Linked DNA regions of Homo sapiens: region 1 is linked to region 2. The links are contacts of gene promoters, found by promoter capture Hi-C in human tissues and cell types (Jung and others, 2019). All regions are on one chromosome and are shown on one strand. The core of a region is centred on a gene start or on the middle of the fragment in contact, and the rest is flanking DNA. Distances in the headings are between cores, read along the strand shown.

Region 1 (2,974 bases), core at 216-2,715, 590 kb before region 2:
TTTATCAAGCATCTACCTTAACATTATCTAATTTCCTCACTAAGTACATAATAGAAGATGTACTCTCTAAACCCTTATATTTACCTGAAAGCCTTTGATTTCACACAGAAGCATTTTCTTCTGCTTTTGATAATCGAAGATTGTTGGTAAAAATCTGAACTCATCGAAGGTCACACAGCTCAGTTCCCTTCAGGAAAATCAGGCCCAGTGAGGATAATACCAATAACATCATCAGACCAATTGAAGGAATTACACTGCAGTGGGTCACAAGGGTGCTGCTAGTCATTAAGTGATTCCCAATAAGTTCATTCACAGCAAGTCCAAATTACACTTACTGTGGCTCTTAAGTTTAGTAATAGTTTTGACCTCTGCTCTGATACCCTCATCTAAACTAATATTTACAGGTATCAGGCACACTGCCTGTGATTTTTTACCCACTTTAAATTATCCTCACAACAACCCCTGTGAATTCTATGCCATTAGTATCATCATTTAATAGCAGAATCACAGAAAGTCTGAACTTTTTGGGAGCATGGAGAGAAGTTATAGGCCACTTTAGAAATCTGATGAAAGCTTAGGGATGCCTTAGGAACAAAAATGTGTATAACCACATGATACAAACTCATACACAACCCATATACTTTCAAGGGGGTGTTCATGAACTTCCTAAGTCCACACATGAGGTTATATATGAACTTGAAGTTAAATCTTGAGTACAAAACTCAGGGTCACCACCATCAGTAGCTTGCATGGGGTCACCTAACTGATAAGGAGCTAGGTATGTTGGAACTCACATCTGTTTAAGTAGACTCCATCGAACACCCTATGGCATCCCAAGCGGTGACAGTCAATTGAAACCCACACACACTTAAATTAAAATAGAAAGCAAGCTCTTGTAAAGACTGCAGGATGCTAACTTTAAGGAAGATCATCACAGCTGTTAGTAAAACCCCATTAACCCTGGGGAAAGTGCATTTGCTTTCCAACTCAGGGAAGATCTGAAATCGGGAAAAGTCCAGTCCAGAATATTCACGCCAACCCGTTTGGCTGGGGCTTATCCCATAGAAGGGCAGCCAGCATGGCCATCAGGTACAATTCCCGGCTTTGCCTCCCCATCTGTGGACCCATCATCACAGGAACAGTCAACTCCCTTTGCTGTTGTGCTGTGACCCATCATCACAGGAACAGTCAGCTCCCTTCACAGTTCTCTGTGGCCTGAACACCAGCCAAGTCCTGTGCTGCTGCCGACCATGTCTGCAGTAGATGCAGACTAGGACACACTAAAGGCTATGGTCAGCATCAGGCTCTGGGTTAGTGCTGAGCAAAGGCAAGTCTCATATTTTAGACTTGTCAGTTCTTATTAGCTCCACATGGAGTGAAGGGAGAGTGCTGTGATGGGCACTTGACCAAGCAAATTAAGCTAATTTAGCCCTAATCTAGTAAACTGCAGAGAGGGTAGAGCTCCAGGCTCTTTAATTTGCTGCTTTATTCCCATGCAGACGATTAAACGATAACGATGATCTTTTTTAATGAGGATTTTTTAAAAATCTGGAATTGGAATTTTTTCAGCACAATAGAGAAACCGTTCATTCAGTTGTTCTAATACCTTGAAATTTTACTTATAATACATTAATTTTCAAACATAATTTGAATCTGAATCCCAGATTTTACATGAATTTGAATAACAGAGGAATTTGGAACACCTAAATTATATTTTTGACAAGAAATGAGTCCAGGGTTGCATTTTGGGAATATACCAGCAGATGGCAATGTCTGACAAAGAGTTTTGCTAGTTTCTACCTTCCTTCCCCTCATCCATCTTCCCAAAAGTTGTTTTCAAAAGCCATAGCAAATATATGCAAAAATATAGGCACTCTTCACTTCTTATAAGTGCACACTGCAGCTGACACTAATTGTTTCAGTCCTTTGGAAAAGCAAAATTAAATGATTATTTTGAATTGCTTTTCTAAAAATCCCAGTGGGTTTATTTCAATAAATCAATCATAATTATAGATTAAGGTAATAGAAATGAATTTGCATCACTAAAAATCATTAAAAAAAATGACCGGGTGTGGTGGCTCACACTTGTAATCTAAGCACTTCGGTAGGCCAAAGCAGGCAGATTGCTTAAGGCCAATAGTTCGAGACCAGTGGGCACCATAGGGAGACCCTATCTCTTAAAAAAAAAAAATTATGGATGGAACGGTGGTGATTCATCACTTCTTTTTGCCTCATGAATTTCCAATATCATTAGATTTTGCTTTTATTCATGTGTGCCAGGCACTAAATTACAATCTATTTGCCTGGTATCTTCCTTTCCTGATAACCGAGTACTGATCAACGAAAAAAATATTCAAGTGGTTAGAAGAAGAAATTTAGAGTTTACCAGTTCTGGCTAGAACCCCAGTTTTACTTATCCTGAATATAAAACTATTCCTACTTATTTTTCATACCACCTTCTGTTTATATGTCTGTCTATTTTAAATTATGTCTCATGAACTGTGCTTTTATACATAATATATACATATATTTACATATATATTACAAAATAACACTATTTTATTTAACAAATATCTCAGGTCCTGTGCTAGGAATTGAGGATCCAGTGGAAAGGAAGCCAAGTCCTTGCCTCTATGAAGCTTGCATTCTGGCAAGGACAGGCACACAAGAAACATATATACAAATAGTACAAGTTTCAGAAGTGATCATTGTTATAAAGAAAATAAAGAAGGGTAATGAATTGCACAGGCAAATGGAGGTGGTCTGGCTGAGCCTTTTAGAGTTGTTGACTTCTGAGGTGAATCCTGAATGATAATGCGAAAGAGAAATGGCCAGATGTGGTGTAATCCCAGCACTTTGGGAGGTGAAGGCAGGCAGATTGCTTGAGCCTAGGAGTTCGAGACCAGCCTGGGCAACAGGGCAAAACCCAGACTCTACCAAAAATTAGCTGGACATGGTGGCGCATGCCTGTGGT
Region 2 (2,869 bases), core at 348-2,847:
AGGTGGCCTTTAAGGTGACTGCTGCTTTTCACTATCTGAGAGGGTTGCAATGCTCACTACCACTAATCAAAGGGTATCCAGTATTGTTGGGGGTTCAGGCTACAGGAGCCCATTTTGATAAGCACTGAGGTTAAATCCTCAGTGAAACCATCTGTGGAGTTGTCTGGGCAAGAAAAAGTAGTTTCATAGTTGACGCTGAGACATGTGATGCAGAAGGAGGCTGGTATCTCTTGATAGGGACTGTGAACTCTATTCCCACGCTCACTGCCTGGCATTGACTTTCAGCTCAGTGAATGCTATTGAACTGAACCTAATTGGGGGACCATAAAGGACAAGCTTTCCTTAAGGTTCACTGAAAACTAGGACAAGAGGAGGTTAAATATCACAGTGTAGTAACAGCAGCTACATTTACTGAGTACCCATCAGGCTTTATGTACTCCATTTCAGTGGCCCTCAAACTTTACCAGTGGAGAATCACCCCAGGCTTTGCAGAAGGCTGAAGGGTGGGGTGGCGGGGGGGCGGTGGGGAGCGTGGTGGGGGCGGTGAGGGGTGAAAATTTGTGTTAAAAAAAACTTCCCAAGTGATGTTGATCAGGAACTGTATTTTGAGAGCCACTCTGGATTTTACTTAATTATCAGTCTTACAAGGTGAATAGTGTTATGCCCACTTTATAAATGAAGAAATAGAAGTGTCTAAGGGTTTCGTAGCTCACAACTGAGAAGAATTTAAAATCAGTTACTTTTGATTCCAAATATCATTCTTGTCCCACTCCATAGAAGGAGATGTGTGTGTACGTGTATATACATACATTTTTGAACATGATCATTTCCCTCTATCCAGCCATCCAGATTCACAGTGTATATTTGTATTTCTGACTCTAGAAGAAAATAATTGAAACTTTTATCACAATTTATCTTTAGGTGATAGGATTATGGGTGTTCTCAGTTATTCTTTGATTTTTGTGATTGTTTTCCTTTATACTTTTTTCTTTGTATCTAAATATACACATTTATCTCAGGAAAAGTTTTAATCATTTTGTTTCCGCTGAACTTATCTAACAGAATGTGACATGAAAATATTAATGCTGATTTGTTCAAAGAAAATAATAATCTCCCACCCCACCAATGTAAACGGATTTAGATAAATTTATTATTCAAGTGAGTACTTATAAAGGCAAAGACTTTGGAACCATCCTGAAAAGCAGAAAGTGAAAATTTCCTTGATCTTTGCCCCCAGAGGAAAGCTCTGGCATACTGGGAGGGTTCTTCACGAATTTTTCATAGAATATACCAATATTTTGTATAATTACGTATTAACATATAGTTTGTGTAAACGCATAATGTATTGTCTACATTTTCACGCTGCAGAGCAACATTATGCACGGTATAAGATTCACCTAATTAAGCGTAGGTAATTAAGATTATAATTACAGGGCAAGACTTTAAAGCCCATGGGAGCCCAGCCGCAGTCAACCTCGCACCTCCCTGCCGGTTGTGTTTCTGGCCTCGCCCCTCCCCGCTTCGCCAGCCCCGCCCCTCCCCGCTTTGCCAGTCCCGCTCCTCCCCGCCCTGCCGCGCGTGGGCACCTGGGAAGAGGCGGAGAACAATATGGCGGATGGCGAGGAGCCGTAAGTACCGGGGCTCTGCAGACGCGCCGGGCTGGGCTGGGTTGTGAGAGAGCGCGGCGGTGGGCGGTTGCCGCCGCCACCCGGGGTCCCCACACCCCCCGCCCCGTCCCCTCGCCCCCCTCCCCTCGCGGCGCCCAGTGTGTAGCGCGATGCTGACCCTTCTTTTATTCTCTCTTTTAGGGAGAAGAAAAGAAGGAGAATAGAGGAGCTGCTGGCTGAGAAGTTAGTGCTGCCGGGAGGCCGGGGCCCTCTCCGGGGACCCCCGCCTCCCCCCACCCCAGGCCTAGGGGACCAGCCGCAGCGGGCCCGGGGGGCTGGGAGGGGGACACCCGGAGCGCAGGCCGCGCTGCCTCATCCCCTGATCCCCGCCCCGCAGCCCCGGGGGCCTGGCGGGCCGCTCCCGGTATCTGCCCGGTGCGGGCGTCGGGGCCAGGCTGTACTGCCCCAGCTCCTGCAGGGGCCCTCCGGGGTGCTTGACGTAAAGGTCTTGAGGAAGGACCCTTGTGCACTCCTCTTCCTCCATCCCAAATTGTCAGAGCAGTGACCCTGTGAAAAGGCAATCTACCTTAAACACACAGGAAAAGGACACAAGACCGTTTTGTGGCCTTTTGCAAACACTGAGACAGTAGTACTAATTGCAAACTTTTAATGATAACTCTACATGTCAGGTATTGTACTAAGCACTCCAGTCATTTTGGCAGAATAATTGGCTCTTAAAAGATCTGGAAAGAGGTTGTTGACTTCAAACAGCCTATTTATCCCTTTTACTACACACCCTATTTCTTATCAGATGCTTAATTCTATGCTGGTGAGACAGATTTAATCGAAGTGTTTTCTAACCTGGCCAGCGCCACATAATTTACTCCCCTCCCTGCCTGGGCAGGGAAAAAATACTCTTGCATTGGTTATGGTGAGTTTGTAAATTTCCGTGCCGATTCCCAGTAGCAGTGCTTTGATCTTTATGTGTGTCCCTCAGTTGAATTTCAGCTGCAAGAGGACCGGGATGACAAACTTAATTTCACATTCTTTCCTGCCTTTTATTTCCCTCCCACTTTTACATGAAATCACAATTAAACATTGCTTACCATATCCCACGTACTGTACTGAGTCTTCTGTGTGATTATCTATATCCTCATGGCTGAAAGAAGTAGCTATGAACGGCCTGCAGATGAGGTTTATGTCTATTAAGTAATCTGCTCAAGGTCACAGTGCTGTTAATTGTGGAACCCAACACAACTCTG

Evidence for each region. Contacts are between HindIII fragments. The study calls those that stand out against the background at their distance.
Region 1: a fragment that was not itself captured here is called in contact with the fragment with the promoter of UBA3 in region 2 in 1 of the 25 tissues and cell types used here (dorsolateral prefrontal cortex).

The regions. Positions count from the first base shown.
Region 1 is chr3:69,670,076-69,673,049 of GRCh38, reverse strand. No RefSeq gene overlaps it. Among named protein-coding and RNA genes, the nearest start is that of MITF, 68 kb to the left of the region's middle. The HindIII fragment of the contact is 3,231 bases long and covers 1-2,974 here.
Region 2 is chr3:69,079,093-69,081,961 of GRCh38, reverse strand. UBA3 (ubiquitin like modifier activating enzyme 3) reads left to right here and starts at 1,597. Exons shown (of 18, transcript NM_003968.4): 1 at 1,597-1,628; 2 at 1,809-1,850. The coding sequence starts at 1,609. RefSeq lists silencers at 1,489-1,558, 1,679-1,768, 1,889-2,118. The HindIII fragment of the contact is 6,628 bases long and covers 1-2,869 here.